Regions from separate parts of the Homo sapiens genome. Here regions 1 and 2 are each linked to region 3. The links are contacts of gene promoters, found by promoter capture Hi-C in human tissues and cell types (Jung and others, 2019). All regions are on one chromosome and are shown on one strand. The core of a region is centred on a gene start or on the middle of the fragment in contact, and the rest is flanking DNA. Distances in the headings are between cores, read along the strand shown. Region 1 overlaps PARD6G (par-6 family cell polarity regulator gamma). Region 2 overlaps SLC66A2 (solute carrier family 66 member 2). Region 3 holds the start of RBFA (ribosome binding factor A).

Region 1 (2,869 bases), core at 111-2,610, 180 kb after region 3:
CTAGATTGTTTTAAATTAAGATGTTAACTGAAATTAAATGTTAATTGAAAAGCCATCACTAAGAAAATACAGTAAAAAGAAACAACAAAGAAATAAAACTGTACGTAAAAATATTTAACAGAAAAGAAAGCAATAATGGAGAGCAAAATGATGAGACAGAAAATAAACAGCAAAATGACAGGCACAAATCCTACTATGTCAGTAATTAAATGTAAATGAATTCAACATTCTAATAGAAAAAGGCAGAGATTGGCAAAATGGATTAAAACACAAAACACAAATAGAAACAACAATCATTCTCCAGTTATATGAGGAGACATGCTTTACATTCAGGGAAACAAATAGGTTGAAAGAAAGGGGATGGAAATAAATATACCATGCAAACAGTACCTAAAAGACAGCTGAAGTGGCTATATAAACAGCAGACAAAATAGACTTTAATGCAAGAGAAAAAGATATTTTATAATAAAAGGGTAAATCTATCAGGAAGACATAACAATTATAAACATATATACATGTGACAACGGAGCTCCAAAATAAATGAAGCAAACACTAACTTAAAAGGAGAAATAAATAGTTCAACAATAAATGAACAGTTCAACAATAAATGTTGGAGACTTTAATATCCCAATTTTTATAATGAATAAAACTAGGCAGAAGATCAACAAAAAATAGAAGACTTAAACAACACTATGAACCAACTAGACCTGGAAGACATCTGTATAATACTGCACCCAACAACTGCACAATAAATATTCTTCAAGTACACATGAAACATTCTCTAGGATAGACCATACTTAGGCCCTAAAACAAGTCTCAATAAGCTTAAAAGGACTGAAATCATACAAAGTATGTCTTCCAACCACAAGAAAATGAAATTAGAAATCAATAAAAGAAGAAAATGTGAGAAATTCACAAATAAGTGCTAATTAAACATACCCCTAAATAACCTATGGAATTAAAAAGAAATCACAGAGGAAATTAGAAAATATGTAGAGATTAATGAAAATGAAAATACACCACACCAAAATTTATGGGATGCAGCTAAGGCAGTGTTGAAAAGGAAATGTACAGCTGTAAACACCTATATTTAAAAAGAAAGATTTCAATTCAATAATCGAAACTTCCACCATTAGAAATGAAAAAGGAAATGCAAACTTAATCTAAAGCAAGCAGAAAGTAGAAAATAATAGCGGTTAGGGTGGAAATAAACGGAAGACTCAAAAAACAGAGAAAGTGACAAAATCAAAAGTTGGTTATTTGAAAATACTAACAATATTGACAAATCTTTAGGTAAACTAACCAAGAAAATAATGAGAGAAGATTCAAACTACTAAAATCAGTAATGGTGAAGGGGACATTGCTATGGGCCTTAAGGAATCAAGGATTATAAACATTCTAGTAGCAATGATCACACCTAGCATGCAAGGAACCAAGACTCCTTGGAGAAATGACTGATTGAAGGGCTGGTACAGGAAATATACATGATGTGCCTTGGGTATTTTATAATACCAGAAAGTAAAGAAGTGCCCCAAAACAAAACAAAGCCCATAATCATGTGGGTATGTCAAAGGGAAATAGAAACCAACAGAAAAAGCTCCCAGTGACTGAAGTTGGAACAATTTGAGCAAGTAGTATTAGATTATAATTCAAAGTACAAATAAAATCCATGACTCCACAATGATGTAAATGACTGAGTACATAGATGAGGGAGAGTAGACAGGTCTACCATACAGAAGAATACCAAATAATTTATTACCAAATAGATACACCACCCTCAAGGATGTAGAGCATAACTTCCCACCTCTTATGTGTAAGGCACACGGAATGTGTTCATTCCAAAACCTACAGTATAAAAAGGGGGAAGAAAGAGTAACTCTACAGGGGAGAAACCGGGCAAACACTCTCAGCCAGGTAACCAAGATCAACATCCACAATAATAAGTAATGTTGATAGCATGTATCTTGATATGATGTGATCAAGATACCACTTTACCACTGTCTTCTTCTTCCCCCAAACCCATAATCCCAGTATAATAATGAGAAACATAACAGACAAATCTCAATTGAGGGACATTCTACAAAATGTCTGAAGAGTACTCCTCAAAACTATCAAGGTCACCAAAAACAAGAGAAGTCTGAGAAATTATCACAGCTAAAAGGAGCCTAAGGAGATGTATTAGTCCGTTCTCATGCTGCTATAAGGACATACCTGAGACTGGGTAATTTATAAAAGGAAAGAGGTTTTACTGACTCACAGTTCTGCAGGGCTGGGAGGCCTCAGGAAACTTACAATCATGGTGGAAGGGGAAGCAAACACATCCTTCTTCACATGGTGGCAGCAAGGAGAAGTGCAGAGTGAAGCGGCGGGGAGCCCCTTACAAAACCATCAAACTCATGAGAATTCACTCACTATCACAAGAACAGCATGGAGGTAACTGCTCCTATGATTCAATTACCTCCCACCAGATCCCTCTCATGACACATGGGGATTATAGGAACTACAATTCAAGATGAGATTTGGGTGGGGACACAGCCACACCATATCATTCCACCCTGGCCCCTCCAAAATCTCATGTCCTCACATTTCTAAACACAATCATACCCTTCCAACAGTCCCCCAAAGTCTTAACTCATTCCAGCATTAACTCAAAAGTCCAAGGCCAAAGTCTCATGTGAGACAAGCCAAGTCCTTTCTGCCTATGAGCCTGTAAAATCAAAAGTAAGTTAGTTACATCCTAGATACAATGGAGGTACAGGCATTGGGTAAATACACCCATTCCAAACAGGAGAAATTGGCCAAAACAAAAGGGCTACAGGCCCCATGCAAGTCTGAAATCTGACAGGGCAGTCACTAAACTTAAAGTTCC
Region 2 (2,700 bases), core at 35-2,534, 130 kb before region 3:
CCCCCCACTCAGGAATTTGCTTCAGGCCAAAAGCCCAGGGCAGCAGGGTAAGGCGCCATCGGCCAGGACCTGCACGGCAGGGGCAGCCCCCTCCACTCCCTGGACCCGAGACCGTCTCTCCTGGAAGATGGACATCAAAACTGCATCCGGAGGTGCAGTCTGCACCCAGAAGGAAGGGGATCTCCGCCAGCAGAGCCCAAGAGTGGCGTGCAGACTGCATGTGCACAGCCTCAGCCCGGCCCCCTCAGCCATTGCCCATGAGGGCCTCCACGTTGTCTGATGGTCGCTGGCATCTGCCACGTCCCCAAGGACTCGAGGAGAACCAGAGGCTGACAAGAGCAGCATGAGCTAGCCCTGGCGATGCTCAGCCGGGCTGGACACAGCGGATCCACAAGGCGTTCAGGCCTCGCAGCCACTCCAAAGGCCCAGGAAACACCGACTGTCAGAAAACCCGGAGCACGGTGACCCTGCGTCCGCACAGCCGCCTTTCCGTGTGTACCAGGCAGAGAAAGCCCCAGCCCTCCCCCGTGCCAGACCCCTGGGTAGCAGAGGCCACCCCAGTCCAAGCAGGGTGTCTGGCCAGGGTGTCACGGGGTCGAGGGCTCCGCTCACAGGCCTTACAGGGTCTCCTGCGGTCACCCCAGCTTCAAGGTTCGCGGCTGCTGGCCCGTGTGTCCACCTGGAGCAGGTTCCTGCAGGCCGCCCAATGTGTACCTTGGGCTCAGACGGTGTTTCATAAGAGGAAATGGGGAAAACACTTGCTTTTTATGTCATCCTAAAAACATCCAAAACCCTCGGGGCCAGATCAACCCTGGCTGTCCCCGCTGAGCACAAACAGCGTCCCAGCCCCACCCCCACTGCCCACCCTGAGACACCCCACAGAGGCTGATGGAGACCCCAATGCCCATGCCCCATCTCTGCCACACCTGCAGGGGCCACAGCACCCACCCTCCCCGCGGGGAGGTCAGGGCCCACCAGTGCCCGCGGCTGGCGGTCCCACATCCTCGTCCTCCCCACTGTCAGAGGGCCTTGGTGCCAGTGGGGTGCACGGCGTGGGGCGCCGGCTTCTGGGGGTGGCGGGCGAAGGCGTAGGCCTGCCCCAGGATGGCCAGGTCCACCAGCACCTGCAGCAGGCCGCACACGGAGAACTGCAGAGGGGCACCCTTCAGCAGGAAGTAGGCCGTCTTGAAGGCGTCACCACTGGTCCACATGAGCACCATCTTGATGCTGTGGAGACACAAGCAGGCGGTCAGCGGTGGGGAGGGCGGCGACCTGGGCTCAGTCAGTGGGGAGGCCTGGGGCTTAGACAGCGGGGAGACCTGGGGCTCAGGGGCACCCAGGGGGCTAAGGGGACCCCCAGGCAGTCGGCGGGGAGGCCTGGGGCTCAGGGGGCACCCAGGGGGTTGAGGGGACACCCAGTCTACAGGGTGACCCAGGGGTCAGGGACACCCCAGGGGGCCAAAGGACACACCCTGACCCCACCTGTCCCATGCAACCCCCACCCTTGACTTCTCTGTGGCCGCAAGAGCTGCCGCCTGGCTGGGGCTCTGCAAGCCCAAGAACAGTGAGACCAGCTCGAGGCTACAGGGGACAGCAGGGCGAGCAGCTGACGTCAGGGCCCCTGGTGCGCGGTGGCAATTCTGGGAGGGGCCGGGCCTGGGAGGGTGCTGAGGACGCAGATCTGTGCCCCCAGGCACACAGCCAAGTGGAGCAGAGCAGCTGCTTTTGGGTCTCTGCCGGCCTCCCTCCCTGGTGATAGATGCAAACCTTCCTTTCCTGGAGTGAACAGGGAGCAGCCGCCACCCACCATCCCAGTCCGAACACGCTTCCCCCACCGCTGTGTTCATGCCCTGGCTTGCCTAGCAGTGAACATGAGTGCTGCTGCACTTTCCCGTGTGAAATGTTTAAATCAGCGGCCGCTGACCCTTCCACAGCTCCTGAAGCCAGAGGCAGAGCCTGGGTGGGGAGCGCTGCCTGGACAGAAAGGACAGGACACAGCCCTCCCCCACCCTGGGGCGTCCGTCCCGCTCATAAGCCAGGGTGGGCACCTGGGTGCCGTAGCCGCCCTGTGTGAGAGTCTTCAGGCACAGCCATGGCCGGGTGTGTTCAGGGCTGGAGCTAGGAACCCGCAGGAGACAGCCGGCATCTGCACCCCCTCCTCTCTCCCAAGCCCACAGTGCTCGGCTCTAGAGCATCTTGTTGGCCTCTGAGAACATAAATCCGGCTTTATCATTACACCCACTGGGAAAAACCAGGAGGCTTTGGGACTGTTTCCACTTGGGTCGGTTTAGCTAAATTATAAGGCCCTGACCCACAGAGGGCATTTTCCTCCCATTTTTTATTCTCTGGGATGTGTCCTCCCCTGGATGCAGCTCCAGCTCCACAAAATCCAGTCTCTTCCACAGACAAAAAGACAGGGTGGTGCCTGGGTAGCACCGGGGGAAGGTGGTGCAGGCCCCTCGGCCTCTCACACACCCCAGCAGTCAGCCCAGGCTTCGGAATTCCCCCCTGCCTGCTTTAGGCCCAGGCAGGGCTGCACAGCTGACTTGGGGTGGGGCTCCGGGCCTGGGACCACAGCCCCGGTGCAAAGGCGCCTGCCTTTCCTGCGCTAGCCATGCACACAGCAGGCGCCCGAGCATTGCGCGGTGACCCCGCCACCGGTCACCTTCGCCCCACGCAGCTTCCGGTTGACCCCTCACA
Region 3 (2,796 bases), core at 237-2,736:
TTATGTAAAATGCAGATTCCCCACGTTTTTCCTCTGCCCGTTTGTTTGTGAAAACTCTGCTTCTCAATACTCCGCCCTTTCCCCTTTAAATCTGGGGCCCTCAAAATCATTTTTGGAGAAAGGCGTAGACCTGTCTCCTGGGTGCGTCCTTAACTTTGGCAAATAAATCTCCTAAAATGATTAGAGACTTGTCTCGTCGTTTTCTTCGATTGACAATATATACACACATACATACGCATACACACACACATATATACGCGCACGCACATGCACACATATACATGTCCACACACATGCACACACACGTACATATGCACACATACACATGTACACATCCACACGCGCCCACACACACACACACACACAGACGTGTCTCACACCACAGCAGCCGCCTCGGGGGAGTCACAGCCCACGCATCCCCAACACTGCGGTCGCGCTCACTTCTCTTTCCACGCCCGGGGGGAGCAGCTTCCCCGCTGGGCCACGCTGACTCTGGGGAGGCGGGCGGGGCGAGACCACTTCTGGGGAGGACGCCCAATCTGGGGACTTTCTCTAGGTGCCCGGGGAGAAGGCGGCGCAGCAGCAAAGCCCTGGAGGGCCCAGTGGCGGAAACAGACGGACCCCTCGCAGCCTCCCGCCGACAGCGGCCCTGCCCAGGTCTCCAGGCTTCGATGCCTTCGTTGCTTTGTGCGGCGCACCCGCCTACGTCAGTTCCCAGTATTTAAACAAAACGTGTTCCTAGCTACGCAGCGCCAGGCAACCAGGCGGTTCCCACGCTTCCCCGAGTGGCACACCCTCCGCGCAGCCCACGCGGCCTCCCCACGCCCAGCTCCCGCCGGCCCCGCCTCGCGTCGTCCTTCGCCCCGCCCCCGTTGCCGCCCCCCCCGCCCGCACACTGCCCACCTGGCGTTGTCTTCACCCCGCTTACACGCCGCTCGCTTCGCTCTGGTAGTCGCCCACCTCGCGCTGCCCTTCTCGCTTCAGTCTTCGCCCTGCCCACCCACCGCCCACCTCGCGCCAGTCTTCGCCCCGCCCATTCACCGCCCGCCTCGCGTCAGTCTTCGCCCCGCCCAACCACCGCCCGCTTCGCGTCGGTCTTCACCCCGCCCACTCGCCGTTCGCCTCGCGCCTTCGCCCCTCCGCCGTTGTCGCCCCGCCCCTTCTTGCGTCCAGTCTTTGCCCCGTCCCTCGCCGTCGCCCCGTCCACACGCCGTCAGCTTCGCGTCTGTCCTCGCCCCGCCCACCTACCGCCCCCCTCGGGCCTTCGCCCCTCCGCCGTCGTTGCCCCGCCCGCCTTGCACCCCGTCTTCGTCCCGCCCCGCGCCGTGGCCCCGCCCACACGCCGTCAGCTTCGCGTCTGTCCTCGCCCCGCCCTGCATCATCGCCCCGCCCTGCATCATCGCCCCGCCCACACGCCGCCTGCCAGGCGTGAGTCTTCCTCCCGCTCTGCGCCGTCGCCCCGCCCACACGCCGCCACCCTCGCGTCAGTTGTCGCTCCGCGCCTGCGCCCGTTGTCTCCCTGCTCGCTCCGGGTCCCGGCGCCGCGCCATGTGGGCTGCGGCGGGCGGGCTGTGGCGCTCCCGCGCGGGTCTCCGGGCCCTGTTCCGTAGCCGCGATGCTGCGCTATTTCCAGGCTGCGAGCGGGGACTTCACTGCTCTGCTGTCTCCTGCAAGAACTGGCTCAAGAAATTTGCCTCGAAAACCAAGTAATGCGGCGGGGGCGGTGTCCCTGGGCGCGGTATTCCCTAGGGGGCGGTGTCCCCGGGTTGCGGTGTCCGCTCATCCGCGTTCTTGCGCCCATGCGGCCTAGCTCGCCAGTTCCTGCCTCCTGGGGTCTGCAGCAGTTCTAGCTCTCACTGTCAGCATTTGCAGCTTTTGTGTTCGTGGACGTGTGTCGGGTTAAGAAAACAAAGTGACAATGTGTGTTTATTTTGATTCTTGTCACCAGACGTATTTTTCAGAAGATTAGTTTCAGAAAATGAGGAAAAATGAAAAAATATAAGAATTTCCTTGCTAATGTTGACTTTCTGTGTGAATTTGAAGACTAAAGCTTGTCATGATAATTAGTGTTTTTAAATTATGAAAGATAAGTACAATAAAATACATTGACTTTTCACACTGCTTTTAGTTCTTCTAAGTATGGTAGGTGGTTGTATGTTTTCTACTTTAATACACTACTTTTAAAGACAGTTTTAGACCCTGCAGAAAAATTGCAAAAATAGTACCGCGTTCCTGTGTCCTGGCACCCAGCTCCCCCTGTGTTAGCGTCGGACTTTAGCTTCCAACGTGTTCCAGTTAATGAGCCGATATTGATAAGAGTGTTGCTAACTGAAGCTCATACTTTATTCACTTTTCCTTGGTTCTGCCTGCTGTCCCTTCCTGTCCCAGGTGCCCACCCAAGGTCCACGTTACATTGAATTGTCTTGTTTCCTTAGGCTGGGGTAGTGTCCCAGACTGTCCCTGGTTTTGATGGCTGTGCCAGTTTTGAGGGGTACTGGTCAGGTGCTTTGCAGGATGCCTCTCTGTTGGAATGTGCCTGTTTTTTTAATGCTTAGACGTGGATTATGGCTTTTGGGGAGGAAGACTACAGAGGTAAAGGCCATTCTCATCGCACCGTATCCAGGGTCCACGCTGGCCGTGATCCCCTGCATGAGGTGCTTGCCAGGTTTCTCTACCGTAAAGTTACTCTTTTTGCCCCCTTTCCTTACTGTACTCTGGGAGAAAGTCGCTGTGTGCAGCCCATGCCTAATGAGTGGGGAATTTTGCTCATAAGTGGTTTGCATTCTGCACAAGGGA

Evidence for each region. Contacts are between HindIII fragments. The study calls those that stand out against the background at their distance.
Region 1: a fragment that was not itself captured here is called in contact with the fragment with the promoter of RBFA in region 3 in 1 of the 25 tissues and cell types used here (lymphoblastoid cells).
Region 2: a fragment that was not itself captured here is called in contact with the fragment with the promoter of RBFA in region 3 in 1 of the 25 tissues and cell types used here (dorsolateral prefrontal cortex).

What each region holds. Positions count from the first base shown.
Region 1 is chr18:80,215,568-80,218,436 of GRCh38, forward strand. The region is part of intron 1 of PARD6G (par-6 family cell polarity regulator gamma); the gene reads right to left. Among named protein-coding and RNA genes, the nearest start is that of PARD6G, 31 kb to the right of the region's middle. The HindIII fragment of the contact is 7,075 bases long and covers 1-2,869 here.
Region 2 is chr18:79,902,957-79,905,656 of GRCh38, forward strand. It overlaps SLC66A2 (solute carrier family 66 member 2), which reads right to left. Exons shown (of 6, transcript NM_025078.5): 6 at 1-1,227. The coding sequence ends at 1,020. Among named protein-coding and RNA genes, the nearest start is that of SLC66A2, 47 kb to the right of the region's middle. RefSeq lists an enhancer at 1,211-1,846. The HindIII fragment of the contact is 4,811 bases long and covers 1-2,700 here.
Region 3 is chr18:80,032,948-80,035,743 of GRCh38, forward strand. It overlaps RBFA (ribosome binding factor A), which reads left to right and starts at 1,487. Exons shown (of 7, transcript NM_024805.3): 1 at 1,487-1,706. The coding sequence starts at 1,549. It also overlaps a transcript of TXNL4A not described here. RefSeq lists silencers at 773-942, 974-1,130, 1,013-1,332, 1,343-1,422, 1,533-1,682. The HindIII fragment of the contact is 12,317 bases long and covers 1-2,796 here.